Linked DNA regions of Homo sapiens: region 2 is linked to region 1. The links are contacts of gene promoters, found by promoter capture Hi-C in human tissues and cell types (Jung and others, 2019). All regions are on one chromosome and are shown on one strand. Each heading gives the region's core, a stretch centred on a gene start or on the middle of the fragment in contact. The rest is flanking DNA. Distances are from core to core; before and after follow the strand shown. Region 1 holds the start of TOMM5 (translocase of outer mitochondrial membrane 5). Region 2 overlaps LOC124902153 (a long non-coding RNA gene).

Region 1 (7,846 bases), core at 4,657-7,156:
ATATAAATGCGTGTGGAGATATATATATTATATATATATGCCTACACTCACACACACACACACACACACACACACACACACAAGAAAGAGCAAGAGCTGTACATGTATATGATAGAAGAAAGGCCAAAAGAATTACCATCAATATGAGTGGTTGTAGTATTATGGGGAATTACTTTTTTTTTCTTTACTTTTGTATTGTCTAAATTTTATTATAGTAAACATACTTTTTTATAAAAGAAAGAAAGTTATTTAAAGTATGACATGGGTTTTATATAATTATATTGCTGTAAATAAATACAAGCAAATACATTTTAAATTTCATTCTATAACTCTGCCTATGATAGACTAAAATTATTTAATTGATTTTTATTTAGCCAAACAAAAAACAACCTGTTCTAAAAGAGTGAGAAATAAGTAACTATATAAGACTAATAGGTAGGGTCGGGTGTGGAGGCTCATGCCTGTAATCTCAGCACTTTGGGAGGCCAAGGTGGGTGGATCACTTGAGGTCAGGTGTTCGAGACCAGCCTGGCCAACATGGTGAAACCCCATCTCTCCTAAAAATACAAAAATTAGCCAGGCGTGGTGGTGCACATTTGTAATCCTAGCTACTCAGGAGGCTGAGGCAGGAGAATTGCTTGAACTCAGAAGGCAGAGGTTGCAGTGAGCCGAGATTATGCCACTGCACTTCAACCTGGGCAACAGAACAAGACTCTGTGTCAAAATAATAATAATAATACTATGTAGTATTTGAGGGAAATTTCTTTTGGGGACAATTTCCTTTCAATCTAATATACAAAGCCAGCAATTTTTAAATTCTAAACACTAGTAGATATGAAATGCATTCATTCACTCATTCACTTGGGGGTACTTACTGAGTTTCTACCATGTAAATACCTGTCCTCGGTTGCTTGGAGGATGAAAGAATGAGCGATGACATGTTCCTTGTACTTGAGGTGCTTGCAGTCTACATGGCAAGAGATCAAATATTCATGAATTATCCAGACAACAAAGCCCTAAAGGTTAGAACTGAGAACGGGGTGTCATAGAAAGCAAATGCCAGTGAGGTGAAGGTTATCAACATTCTACCTCCCTTTAAGGTTCAAAGGTCCCCTCTTCCTAAAGAGGCATCTGTCCCTTAGTGAGCAGTAATTTCTAGAAGTAAGTTATCCTCTCTGCTAGGTGAGGACTCTGGTTAGCATCTATCATGGAACAATCCTTACTGAGAGCCCAAGGGTCCTTTCTTTGTCCTGACCCTTATTTCATTCATCTTGGTTCTGAGTGGACTTTAAAGTCAAGTTTATTTTAGGAATTCCAGGCCATGTTCACCTCCTGAAGGAATGAGGAAGGAGAGGTGTGGGACTGGATAATAACACAGTCCAGATTAACAACTGGTGATGGGTGAGGCAATGTGGAAAGAAGGGCTGCCTGTAGTCTATTGATGAGTAACAGCCACCCCTTATCCTGTCCCTCCCAAGCTGGGGTTTAACAACACTCCATTCTTTTCATCTTTACTTCTGAGGGGAGGATCGTCAATGAGAATATTCACAGTTAAAGTATCGAAACCAACAAGGTACGATGGGGAAAGGGGCTAAACTGGGAGCCCAGAGACCTATCCTAGTCCAAGCCAGTTCTAACTAGCGTCCCTTTGGGCCTCAGTTTCCCCATCTGCCAAATGAAGGGGTTGAACTGTTCAATACTCAAAGCCTATATAGCTCCCTATAAATTAGGAATCACAAACTTCCTGTGATTTTATGTTGGATTTATTCCCCAATCATGAGTCATCAGTCAATCTCTGACCTTGCAAATACAAATTCCTCACCAGTGATGAAAATTAAAGCACTTAATTCTCTTATGAGTAGGTTGTACACTCTGAATGATGTGTACTGTACTGTCTGGGAAGTCGAGGCAAAGGAAATGGCTCTTTAATCCCTCCTGGGATCTAAATGGAAAACAAGACAGGCTGTGACATCAGCTCCCATTTCCTCTGTGATCAGACTAAATAATACAAATATCAATATTAAATTATGCGCGCATACTTTTTATTTTTGCCTTCCACGGCAAATCACAGTGAATCCTTTGCTCTTAGCTTTTAGTTCAAGGTTATGTAGGAAGAACAGGAAAGATGAACACAGAATTACAGCATTTTTAGAAATGTGGGCAACTTTAAAGATTAGACCCAACCTCTAATCATCCCATCATTGAGGAAGAATGAGGGGTCCAAGATATGAAATAGCTCCATCCAATGTTGACTTCCTGAAGCATATTTTCTCAATTTGCCTCACCTAAACCCACTGTCATTGGACAATACCACCACCTACATGCCAAATAAATAAGCACTTTTTTAAAAAGCCAAAAAAGAGAAGCGAATCTCTTTTCATGAGTTTCCTTCATTACAACTAGATGAACCATGCAAGGGGAAAACTGAATTCACCAGGAGGAACGTATCTGAGACAGGAATGGGTCATCCTCCTAGCCTGTAACCAACACCAATTCTTCACTCCAAGATCTAGCTACCCCATATTTCTATCCACTACCTACTTCTGTCTCTACAGGTACGCAAGCACCAGACTTAAGAAAATTGTTATGAAAATAATACTGCCCTTTAACAGGCTAGCCGTTTGCTACCATATCACCTACCGGGTGTAAAGGTGCTGCTTTAGCTGGGCATGGTGGCGCTTGCCTGTATCCCAGCTACTTGGGAGGCTGAGGCAGGAGGATCCCTTGAGCCCAGGAGTTTGAGAATAGCCTGGGCAACATAGCGAGACCCTGTCTCAAAAAATTAATTTAAGAAAGTACTGCTTTAATTTAGGGAATAAAATTCAAATGCTTAAAATCTGTTCTTTTCACCAAGAAACATTATTTTTGGCTAATTTATCCCGTCTTTCATTTCCTATGAAAGTTACTCAAAAGCATCTCTGCAGAGAAAATAAATTGATAGTTTCATATGTGAGCTGTTTTTCTAAATTTTATCAGCATTAGGGGTTGAAGTTACTGGAACCACGTAACAAGAACTCACCCCTTCCCAATCACTTTGCCTCACTATTCGGATGGATGAGATATGCCTTATTTTTACATCCATCCTATCGTGGAACACACACACACACTGACCATTTTGATGTCTGACCATATTTGATGATATTTTCAAAGTCATACACTCCATAACAGAAAGTTCTAGATGACACAATTAAAATTCAAGATGCATAGGTGGTTTTAAAAAATGCATAGACTGTTAGAACTGGAAGAAACTTTCAAAAGCATCTCAATATATGCCTTCCCTTTCCAACTAAACAAATGGAAGAACTGGGTGCAGTGGCTCATGCCTCGGTCAGGAGACTGAGGCAAGAGGATTACTTGAGCCCAGGAGTTTGAGACCAGCCTGGACAACACAGCAATATTCTATTTCTAACAAAATAGAAAAAAATAACCAGGTGTAGTGGCACGTGCCAGTAGTCCCAACTACTCAGGAAGCTAAGGCAGGAGAAGGACTGCTTGAGCCCAGGAGTGTGAGGTTGCAGTGCGCTATGATCACACCACTGCACTCCAACCTGGGCGACAGAGCAAAACTTCATCTCTTAAAAAAGAAAAAAGAAAATTAGCCGAGCGTAGTGGCACACGCCTGTAGTCCCAGCTACTCGGGAGGCTGAGGCAGGAGAATCGCTTGAACCCGGGAGGCAGAGGTTGCAGTGAGCCAAGATCACGCCACTGCACTCCAGCCTGGGCGACAGAGCAAAACTCAGTCTAAAATAAATAAATAAATAAATAAATAAAGAAGAAGAAAGAAATGGAGTTGCAGTGAAATCAGATACTCGTCCCTCATCACACCACTAGTTGGCAGCAGTGCCAGATCTAGAGTCCATGTCTCCAGTGTTCCTGTTCATGTTCTTTCCGCAGTTCTTGCTGCTTTCAACATCACTGCAGGCTTTCTAAACACTCACCAAGGGTTGGCTGGAGGCTATTCCTTGGGAGTCAGCCCCTCCCATTCCAGAGCTGCCTCTGCTATTCCATTGCATGAATTACAGATGCAAAAGGTTGCTAAAGCTGGAATAAGCAGATGAGTTCCCTTTCTTGCCCCAGTGCCTTACATTCTGTCAACCAGAAAGTTGACCGTGCATATAGTTATTAGTTGCTCTCATAGTAAATTATTGTCCTAATTTATCCAAAGTCCATTGTTGCTATGCAATATGCAGTCAAGAAGGAACATTCTGGTTTTGAATTATGTGAGCAATTCAGTCATCTGGCTTGCGTGTAAGAAGTAGATATGGCTAGTTGGCATGCGTAACTTGGGGCAGCAGCCTACTAACTCTGTTTGGATGCTTCTGTGACAGGAAATCTGGTTGCATCAAACTCTTGACTCTAGCGATGTCCATCCATGTGGGCACTAACTGTTAAAGACTAACAGATGAGCAGTAGGGTGCAGGGGAAAGATAATTCAACTTGACATGATAATTATCTGCATTAGAACCCTGCCCGTGCATCACCAGCAGAATGACTAGACTTTAGTGCACTTTAGACTTCAGCTGCGATGTTCCAGATAAAGGGCTTCACACCAAAGCTGGACTTGGTTTCTGAGCCTCTTTCTATTCATCTGTAAAATGCTGATCAGATTTGAACTTGCTTTATACATATTGTGTTACTTGGCTAACAGTATTTTAAAGACCTCTGTGCTTCAATAATCTGTAAAAAGGCCAGGTGCGGTGGCTCATGCCTGTAATCACGGCACTTTTGGGGGCCGAGGTGGGCAGATCACCTGAGATCAGGAGTTTCCAAGACCAGCCTGGCCAACATGGTGAAACCGCGTCTCTACAAAAAATACAAAATTTAGCCAGGCGTGGTGCTGCGCAACCGTAATCCCAGCTACTCAGGAGGCTGAGGCAGGAGAATCACTTGAACCTGGGAAGCAGCGGTTGCAGTGAGCTGAAATTGCGCCACTGCACTCCAGCCTGGGCGGCAGAGCGAGACTCTGTCTCCAAAAAAAAAAAAAAAAAAAAAAAAGTTTCATCTTTGTCTCTTTGTTTTAACTTATGTAAAGTTTCAAACATACTCAAGAAAGACTAGAATAATTAACTAAAATGAAGTACTAGTCACCAGCAGTTTTTAATATTTTGCTGACATCACTTATCTCTCTCAATACTTTTTTCCCCCTCTGAGGTATTTTTAAGCACATTTGGGGGCCAGGCGCGATAGCTCACGCCTGTAATCCCAGCACTTTGGGAGGCCGAGGCGGGAGGATCGCTTGGATCCTGGAACCCAGGAGTTCCAGAACAGTCTCAACCACCACAATTAGCAATAAAAAAATAAATAAAAATTAAAGCACATTTGGGCAAGATGTTTTAAAGATCTCTGTGCTTCAATTGTCTAATCTAGGAAACGAAGATTATAATATCGAATTCACGGGGGACAATTATATTGAATATTCAATAAATGTTAGTTATCACTGTTTACAGTGGTACCTATGTGCACAGCCCCCTCCAGCGCGTAAAAGCACTTTACAGCGCAGCGCTCCAGGCTCAAGATAGATGTTATTGTTGTTGTTATTATTATTATTATTATTATTATTTTGAGACGGAGTCTCGCTCGCTCTGTCGCCCAGGCTGGAGCGCAGTGGCGCGATCTCGGCTAACTGCAACATCCCCCTCCTGGGTTCAAGCGATTTTCCTGCCTCAGCCTCCCGAGTAGCTGGGATTGTAAGCACGCGCCACCGAGCCGGGCTGATTTTTGTATGACAGATGTTATTAAAGACAGCGTGGAGAAACCAGAGCCTGCGTTGCTGAGCTTGCGGCCGCCCGCTTCACACCGCACTTCAGATCAGCTGGGTCAGGACGTGGATTGTCCCGTGCAGGCATCCATCGTCGAGTGTGGCAACGAGAGGGCGGGAACAGGAAGTGAGGATAGGCCGAGTTCCGGGCGCGAGGCGGCCACCGTGGAGAGCAGAGCGCGGCGGCTGGAAGCTGCTAAGTCAGAGCCGCGATGTTCCGGATTGAGGGCCTCGCGCCGAAGCTGGACCCGGAGGAGATGAAACGGAAGATGCGCGAGGATGTGATCTCCTCCATACGGAACTTTCTCATCTACGTGGCCCTCCTGCGAGTCAGTGAGTGTCTCCCGGGCTGTGACTGTGAGACCAGCGGGGAGCTCACCGACGGGCACCCCTTAACTCTAAGGGGTCATCGGGGCCTTCGAACTGAGCTGAACGGTAGCGGGGAGCAAGGAGGGTGCGCGTTGAAGGCGACGGGCATATGCGCGGTTTGAGGTCTGCGGGTCAGGGTCCGGGCACTGAAGTGCACGTGGTGGCCGGCGCGCGTGTTTAATCATCCTGGTTCTCCCAGCTTGAAGAATGTTTGAGCTGCCGGGCGCGTTGGCTCACACCTGTAATCCCACCCAGCACTTTGTGAAGCCGAGGCGGGCGGATCATTTGGGGTCAGGAGTTCGTGGTGGCGGGCGCCTGTAATCCCAGCTCCTCGGGAGGCTAAGGTGGGAGGATTGCTTGAATCCAGGAGGCGGAGGTTGCAGTGAGCCGAGATCGCGACACTGCACTCCAGCTTGAGTGACAGAGCAAGACTCCATCTCAAAAAAAAGAATGTTTGAGCTGAAAGAGCTCAAGTAATTATCCCTAGAGGAACTCCCTCGTTTTTGCAGACAGAGAAACAGAGAAACAGAACCATAGTTCTAGAAGGAAGAAACAGCCTTCTTGGGAAGGCTGGCCAAAGGTCACTCAGCGATTCAGTGAATGATCTTGACCTAAAATCCAGAACTCTTAACTCAGTACCAGGTTCCTTCCCTTTCTTTTCTTTTCTTTTTTTTTTTTTTCCTCGATACACAGTCACGCCCTGTTGCCCAGGCTGGAGTGCAGTGGCGCAGTCTTGGCTCACTGCAACCTCTGCCTCCCGAGTTCAAGCCATTCTCCCACCTCAGCCTCCCAAGTAGCTGAGATTACAGGCGCGCGCCACCACGCCCGGCTAATTTTTGTATTTTTAGTAGAGATGGGTGTTTAACCATGTTGGCCAGGCCGGTCTCGAACTCCTGACCTCAGGTGATCCACCTGCCTCAGCCTCCCAAAGTGCTGGGATTACAGGCGTGAACCAGCGGCCGGGTTCCTTCCCTTTCAAAAGTGCTGACCTTTGAAATCCAAAAAGTTTTGCTTCATTTCTGTTTCTTTGTATAGAGGGTGAAGTGAGTCATTAGTTTTTTGGAAAAAAATGGGAAAAAAGAATATGAGTCTATAGGATTAATGCAAATATTTGAGGTTTTTTTTTCTATATCTTAAAATTGACAGGAAGTTACTCCCATTATATAGTCTTGACAGTGGACCTTTGAGGGAGGCAGGGCCTAAGATTCTTTATATCATTTTACAAATGAGAACTTGATTTTCAGAGGGGACTTAGCAAGGAAGGAAGGTATCAGAGTTATAGGAACACTGAATATAAGAACTGGAAGCAGCTTTATGATCAGTTCTCGAATGCCCTGCCTTCTCGTTCTCAATTCAGTATCCTTTCCATTGTTCCTTGCTGTATATTATTGGCCAGCCAGTCTGGATGGAGCGGCAGGGATGGTTCAAATAAATGAAGGCCATACCAAAGTCATCCTATTGAAGGCTCATGTTGGGCTTAGGCCAGAGCTCACTGATACTGAGATGTCCCTTATTCTGTGTCTCTTTCACTGTCTATGGTATTACTCTGCTTTCACAGAAGAGCGAGTCTTGGGGAACAGAAACACCCGTATCATCCTAGTTCAACAGCTTCTTGCAACTCCCAAATTTACTTATTTCCTGCCTCCTGCCTTTTTCATTGATCTAGCTGCCAGTGAAATATTTGCTGCTTCTCAGTGACCTTTGTATTTGATATGAATT
Region 2 (7,846 bases), core at 2,558-5,057, 190 kb after region 1:
TTTTAAGTAGGATTGCAATTTTTTCCCCTTTCTTCTTTTTTGAGATGGGGTCTTGCTCTGTCCCGCAGGCTAGAGCGCAGTGGTGCAATCATAGCTTGCTGCAGCCTCAAATTCCTCAGGCTCAAGCAAACCTCCCATCTCAGCCTCCTGAGTGGCCAGGACTACAGGTGCACACCACCAAGCCTAGTTAATTTTTTTTTTTTTTTGAGACGGAGTCTCGCTCTGTTGCCCAGGCTGGGGTGCAGTGGTGTAATCTCCACTCACTGCAAGCTCCGACTCCCGGGTTCACGCCAGTCTCCTGCCTCAGCCTCCCGAGTAGCTGGGACTATAGGCGCCTGCCACCACGCCCAGCTAATTTTTTTGTTTTTTTTTTTTTTTTGGTAGAGATGGGGTTTCACCATTTTATCCAGGATGGTCTCGATCTCCTGACCTTGTGATCCTCCCGCCTTGGCCTCCCAAAGTGCTGGGATTACAGGCGTAAGCCACCGCGCCCGGCCAATTTTTTTTTTTTTTTTTTTTTTTTTAAGTAGAGACAAGGTCTTGTGATGTTGCTCAGGCTGGTCTTGAACTCCTGAGCTCAAGTGATCCTCTTGCCTCAGCCTTCCAAAGTGCTGGGATTACAGGTGTGAGCCACCATGGCTGGCTGTGTATGTCTTGTGTATGTCATGGCATCCTTATATGTCTTGTGTATTTACTCAATATTGTATATGTTTTGTATAACTGTGCCATCTTTATTCATTCCCCTGTCAATAAGTATTTATTATATCTTTCTCTTGTATTTGTCCTTATAAACAACGTTGCCATAGCATTCTTGTAAATGTCTTTTTTTTTTTTTTTTTTAAGTCAGTGTCTTGTTCTGTCACCCAGGCTGGAATACAGCAGCATGATCATAGTTACTGTAACTTCAAACTCTTGGGCTCATGTTATCCTTCCACCTCAGCCTCCTGAGTGCCAAGACTACAGGTGCATGCCTCTATGCCTGGCTCATTTTTAATTTTTTTTTGTAAAAACAGTGTCTTGTTATGTTGCCCAGGCTGGTCTCAAACTTCTTACCTCAAGTGATCGTTCTGCCTTGGCCTCCCAAAGCACTGGGATTACAGGCATCAATATCTTTTTGTGCATGCACGGGAGAGATGTTCTAGGGCATGTATCCTAATATAGAATTGTCGAGTCCAAAGTATCTTCAACCTAGCTTAGCTAGATGGTATCAATGGCTTCTGCAAAAATAAATAAAATAAAATAAAATAAAATAAAAAATGAGCCACGCATAGCGGCACACACCTGCTGGGTCAATAGGCATAAGTGTTTTCAAAAAAAAAATTAAAAAATTAGCCAGGACTGGTGGCACACACCTGTAGTCCTAGCTACCTGGGGGGCTGAGGTGGGAGAATCACTTGAGCCTAGGGGTTTGAGGCTGCAATGAGCTGGGATCACACCACTGCACTCTAGCCTGGGCGACGGAGTGAGACTCTGTCCTAAAAAAAAAGAAAGAAGAAAGTAATTTTAAAAATATTTTGTTTTCAAAAACCCAGAATTGAAGAACACAAGTATCTGGCATGAAGAAAATATCCTACAAGTTTGCAGAGAAAAAGTGGATTTCATACAAAGGATCATGGATCCGAATGGCACTGGATTCTTTAACAGCGTCAGTGGGAACCGGAACATGATGGAGGAATATGTTCAAAATTCTGAAAGAAAGAGTTTGTAGTTAAATTAGTGACGAAAATTAGTAAACCAAGCCAATGGTAAAAACGAGACAATTGGGCCGGGTAGAGTGGCTCGCACCTGTAATTCCAGCACTCTGGGAGGCTGAGGCTGTGGATCATCTGAGGTCAGGAGTTTGAGACCAGTGTGGCCAACATGGCAAAACCCCATCTCTACTGAAAGTACAAAAATTAGCTGGGCTTGGTGGCGCGTGCCTGTAGTCCCAGCTACTCAGGAGGCTGAGATAGGAGAATCACTTGAACTTGGGAGGTGGAGGCTTCAGTGAGCCAAGACTGTGCCATTAAACTCCCGTCTGGGGGACAGAGAGAGATTCTGTCTCAAAAAAAAAAAAAAAAAAAAGCAAGACAATTATTAACTCTGAAAATCTTGAAAACAGATTTGCAGTCAGAATAAAGCAAATAACGAATATTGATCTGATCAGAATGACAAATAACTATATTGGGAGGCTGTGGGGGGTGGGAATACATGTATTAATATGCGTTTTGTTCCAGGGTGGGGGGTATTGTGAGTGAGTGATTGATGAGAGCCAAATTCTCCCCTTCCATAATGAAAAATCACTATATAATGTATAAACCTGAAAAATCAAGAAGTAGCAATATAAGCATGGTATTTAGAGAAAATACACTAAATACTTAAAGGATTGAAATAGTATCTCTGAGGCTGTGTATGGTGGCTCATGCTTGCAATCCCAACAGTTTGGGAGGCCAAGGCAGGAGGACTGCTTGAGCCTAGGAGTTCAAGACCAGCTTGGGCAACACAGGGAGACCCCTGTCTAGGATAAATGATAAAAGTTAGCTGGGCATGGTGGCACATGCCTGTGGTTCCCACTACTCAGGAGGCTGAGAAGGGAAAATCACTTGTACCCTGGAGGTCGAAGCTACAGTGAGCCGAGATCATGCCACTGCACTCCAGCCTGGGAGACAGAGTGAGACCCTGTCTCAAAAAAGAAAAAAAAAAAAAAAGTATCTCTGGGACTGAAAAAGCAGAGCAGGGCCATGACTGGGGGAGTGGCTTCAGGGAATTGCTGATTTTTGTAACAAATCTTGTAGAATTTTTTGACCTTTGAAATCATGTGCATGTATAACTTGATACAAATTAAAGTTAAATTTAAAAGCTCCCCTGAGATTAGCAGCCTTGAACATATGTCTTTCACATCTCTTCATTTGTTTCCTTAGGATAAATTCCAGAGGTGGGACTGCTGGGTCAACAGGCATAAGTGTTTTCAAGACCGTATCACCCACAGTGGTAAACAGGGCACCCATCTTTCCCTTTCCAGAGGGTTAATAGCCTTTACTTGCCAGTCTTTGCAAACACCATTATCAATTTTCACATCTCTGCCAATCTGATGGTAAAACGTGGTATTACATGGTAGTTTTAATTTGTGCTTCTTTGACTACTAAATAGTTTTACATAGTTAACATATTTAACCATTTTTAGTTCTTCTTTTATTAATTTCCTGTTACTGTTATTTGTCCATTTTCTTCACCTTTTTCACTCTTGATTTGTAAGGGCTCTTTAAATAGCAAGCCTGCTCATTCTCTATCACACATTGCAAATATTTCCCCCACAGTGGGCCCTTCTCCTTTCAATGTTCTTTTTTGATATAAGGGATTTTTTTGTTTTTATATAGTTAGTCTATCACTTATGTTTTTGGCCTTGGGGTTATGCCCGGAAAGCCCTGGCTCATCCGTGGGCCTTTTACAAGCGCAGCATCTCCTACAGCTTCACCTACTATTCCTATCGAGTATTTCATCAACTCCAAGTTTTTCACATTTTTAATCTCTGAAACTGGGATGGTGCTCAGGTAGTAGTCACTGCCTGCTGCAAATCAGGATGTGCAGAAAACATCAGTGATTTGTCAACAAAAGTCCCAGAGACGACAGTGGGGTATTCTGCAAGAAATGCTGCAACGTCACCTGTTTCTTTTTCCTGCTGGGCACGGAAGGAGGTAACATTTCTCAGCCTCCCTTGCAGTTAGGAGTGGCCGCGTGACCAGGTTCTAGCCACTGGACTGTGGGTGGAGGTGATACAGGTGCCTTGCCCGGTTGGCCCATAAAACCTCCCACAAGATCCTCTACTGTCTTTCTTCCTGTTTGCCGTCAGAGGAGCTGGCAGTGGCTCTGGGGGATGGCACAAGCAGTGGAGGTCCCTGAATGGCCACATGGGAGGCAGCTGGCTAACCAGGGATTCTCACTGCTCTTTGTGTAAACAAGTAATTTACTTCCATTGTGTTCAGCCATTGAGGTTTGGAGTTATGTTCCTCACAGCAGCTAGCATTGCTGATACCTAACTGACACCCTTGTCTTCATTCTGACTCTAATCCAAACTCCTCTAGACGGGGTTTAGTGTTTTATCATTAGTATGATGTTGATTCTTGATTTTAGATAGATACACTTTATCTTGTGCTCTTTTAAAAATCAAGTCTTAGTATTGGAGTTATGCAAAGTGTGTAAAATTAATTGGAAAATTTTTAACTTTTTTCTAAGCTCTGGGAAAGGTTGCATAGCACAGAAATTAACTGTTGGGTGAAACTGACAAAATTCATCCTAAGAACTGTGTGTGTCCTTTTGTAAGAGCACTGCTTTAACAAGCTTTACTTTTTTTAAGACAGAGTCTTGCTCTGTCGCCCAAGCTGGAGTGCAGTGGTACCATCTCAGCTCACAGCAACCTCCACCCCCTTGGTTCAAGCAATTCTCATGCCTCAGCCTCTTGAGTAGCTGGGACTACAGGTACTCACCACCATGCCTGGCTAATTTATTTATTTATTTATTTATTTATTTATTTATTTATTTATTTATTTATTTAGTAGAGATGGGGTTTCACTATGTTGGCCAGGATGGTCTTGAACTCCTGACCTCAAGTGATCAGCCCGCCTTGGCCTCCCAAATTCCTGGGATTACAGGCATGAGCCACCATGCCCGGCCTACTTTCTTTTTCTTTTCAAACTAACTTTTGTTATAGACTAAATTGTGTTTCCCCAAAATTCATAGGTTGAAGCCCTAAACCCCAATGTGACTGTATATGGAAACAAGGTCTTTAAGGAGGTAATTAAGGTAAAATGAGGTCACAAGGGTGGGACCCTCACGCAATATGACTGATGTCCTTAAAAGAAGAAAGACACCAGGGACACGTGTGCACAGGGCAAAGGCCGTGGGAAGACATAGCAAGAAGGTGGCTGTCGGCAGGCCAAGGAGAGAGGCCTCAGAAGAACTAAGCCTGCCAGCATCTTGAACTTGGACTTCCAGACTCCAGAACTGTGAGAAAATAAATTTCTATTGTTTAAGCCACCCAGTCCAGTCTGTGGTATTTTGTTATGGTAGCCCTAGCAGGACAACTTTTATTTTATTCATTTTTCATTAAAAAAAGAAAATAGAAAAAGCCATCCATAATTCTACTACTCAGGAATAACCATTGGTCAAATTGTGGTAAATATCCTTGCAAATACCCACTGACATTTACATATTTACTCATGTAAGTGGGAGCCATTCTCTATATATACCAACTTGCAACCTGCTTTTTACAAAATTTAATTAATTATTATTATTATTTTTTAGAGACAAGGTCTTATTCTGTCACCCAGGCTGGAGTGCAGTAGTGCGATCACGGCTCACTGCAGCATAAGACTTCTGGGCTAAGTGATCCTCCTGCCTCAGTCTCCAGAGTAGCTGGGACTATAGACATGTGCCATTATACCTGGCTAATTTTTAAATATTTTGTAGATATCAAGTCTTGCTATGTTGCCCAGGCTGGTCTTGAACTCCTGGCCTCAAGTGATCCTCCCACCTTGGCCTCTCAAAGTGCTGGGATTACAGGTGTGTGCTACCACACCTGGCTACGCAATCTGCTTTTTTTTTTTTTGGAGACAGTCTAGCTCTGTCACCTAGGCTGGAGTGCGGTGGCACGATTTTGGCTCACTGCAACTTCCACCTCCCGGAATCAAGCGATTCTCCTGCCTCAGCCTCCCAAGTAGCTGGGATTACAGGCATGCACCCCGATGCCCAGCTAATTTTTTTGTATCTTTAGTAGAGACAGGGTTTCACCATGTTGGCCAGGCTGGTCTTGAACTCCTGACCTCGTGATCCACCTGCCTTGGCCTCCCAAAGTGCCGGGATTACAGGCGTGAGCCACCGTGCCCAGCCACAATCGGCTTTTTATACTTAATATCATAAATATTTCCCATGTGGCCAGGTGCAGTGGCTCACGCCTGTAATCCCAGCACTTTGGGAGACCAAGGCAGGTGGATTACCTGAGGTCGGGAATTTGCGACCAGCCTGGCCAACATGGTGAAATCCCGTCTCTACTAAAAATACAAAAAATTAGCAGTGAGCGGTGGCGAGTGCCTGTAATCCCAGCTATTTGGGAGGCTGAGGCAGGAGAATCTCTTGAACCCAGGAGGCAGAGGTTGCAGTGAACCGAGATCGTGTCATTGCACTCCAGCCTGGGCAACAAGAGCAAAATTTCATCTCAAAAAAAAAAAAAAAAAAATGAAGGTTAAGATGTAGATTTTTTGTTATGTGTATTTTACCACAATTAGAAAAAAATGCTCTGAGGTTTTGTAGTTACCGGGCTGGGGCACCACCTAGAGAACGGTGCCCACTGGGCATGGAGGGCATAGAGCCCTGACTCCAGAATTCCTGGTGTGCCCCCAGCTGCCCTAAGGGGTCCTGGCCCATGCCTTCTCTTTGGGCCTCACCTGTCAAATGCTAAGCAGATCCATGGAATGGAAGATGTCCACGCTTCCTCCTGGCCCTGATGAGCTAAGATGAGAATTAGAACAAAAGCGTGTGCTTTTAAAAAAGTAGATAGAGAATTAAAAATACAATCAAAAATCACACTCACTATTCCAAGATTAAAAACATTCTTTAGAAACTGGGCTTATTAGATGACATACTTCCTGCATTGTGTGGGAGGGGAGGGGGCCGGGTCACCGGCGCTCTCCATAGGGGGCAAGCAGGTGAAATGATTATGAAATATGTCAAGAAAATGGTCCTTTTTTCTCGCCAGGAGATAAGGAAAGGTAATTTGGTCTGTCAGTCGCGCACACAGAAGACGTCATGGTCAACTGCATTAATACTGAATACTTTGTCCAGAGTCACAGAGCTCAAAGAAATTACAGAATCTTTCTCCTGTGAATTCTGGCACTACTCTCAGCAGGCCTTTTCCCACCTGAATTCACAAGAGAGATTAATAATAAAAGGCAGGGCTGACGGTGGGACCAGAGCTGCTTTTCCTGGGACCCCCTCCTCCAGCCCACCGGTTCAGCCTCATCTCTTGCCACACCCTCCCCGGTCCGGCTTCAGCCCAACTCAATCCCAGCTGTCCTGCTCTCTCTTCTTCCTACGGGCTCCTCTCCCATAGACGCCAGTCAAAGCCCACCTGCCCAAGCCACCTCCTCTGGGACATCTCTCTCCAGTCCCGATCACCTCCCGTCTGACTGACGCTCCCTCTGCCCCCACGTGCTCACACTTCTTTTTGCAGTTGTTGTGAGGATTGTGTGTCCCTATCTCCCTTCCCCAAACACCCCAGACCTCCCCGAAGGACAGACTTGCCCAGCTGGCCTCTCCCACGGTGTCCAGCCCAGGGTCTGGCACTTCGCAGTGGAAGGGGTGAGTTCACGAGGCGTCTACAAGCTTTCTCTCTTCTGATCTAATAAAAGGGTATCTGTGGTAGATTCTTTCTTTTCTGTATTTTTTGACCTGGCAGGGGTGAAGATGTGTGGTTAGGGTTGGGAGTAGACATTGGGATGCTCTCTAAACCCGTTGTGAAGCTGTTAAATTGCAAGAAACCATCTTCCTCTCCACCCTCCATTCCCACCCTATTCCCACAGGGTGAACAGGAAGCGCCCACTCAGAGCCCTTATTCCAAAGGTGGAAAAACCTCTTCCCTTTGCTGCTTTTGGGGACTCATCAGTCTCTGGAACAATTAAACCTCTTTCAATGCAGTTATATTCCCTCATGTAATAAGTACTGCATTATTTTTAGACTGTTTTACCCAATTAATTTTATTATCAGTTAATTATGTATTACCACCTTAAGAAAATGAATATTTGCCCAGTTGCTTAAGCTAAATCATTAAATATGTATGAATTCCTTTCTTTAAATGTACACCTGTTATCTTTTAC

What was found. The method cuts DNA at HindIII sites, captures the fragments that hold promoters and counts their contacts. A contact is called where the count stands out against the background at its distance.
Region 2: a fragment that was not itself captured here is called in contact with the fragment with the promoter of TOMM5 in region 1 in 1 of the 25 tissues and cell types used here (bladder).

Annotation. Positions count from the first base shown.
Region 1 is chr9:37,590,657-37,598,502 of GRCh38, reverse strand. It overlaps TOMM5 (translocase of outer mitochondrial membrane 5), which reads left to right and starts at 5,906. Exons shown (of 2, transcript NM_001001790.3): 1 at 5,906-6,091. The coding sequence starts at 5,971. RefSeq lists silencers at 3,828-3,897, 4,297-4,591 and an enhancer at 5,550-6,309. The HindIII fragment of the contact is 28,692 bases long and covers 1-7,846 here.
Region 2 is chr9:37,394,797-37,402,642 of GRCh38, reverse strand. LOC124902153 (a long non-coding RNA gene) reads right to left here. Exons shown (of 3, transcript XR_007061478.1): 3 at 6,231-7,421. Among named protein-coding and RNA genes, the nearest start is that of LINC01627, 3.9 kb to the right of the region's middle. RefSeq lists enhancers at 3,623-3,682, 6,617-6,911. The HindIII fragment of the contact is 4,058 bases long and covers 1,779-5,836 here.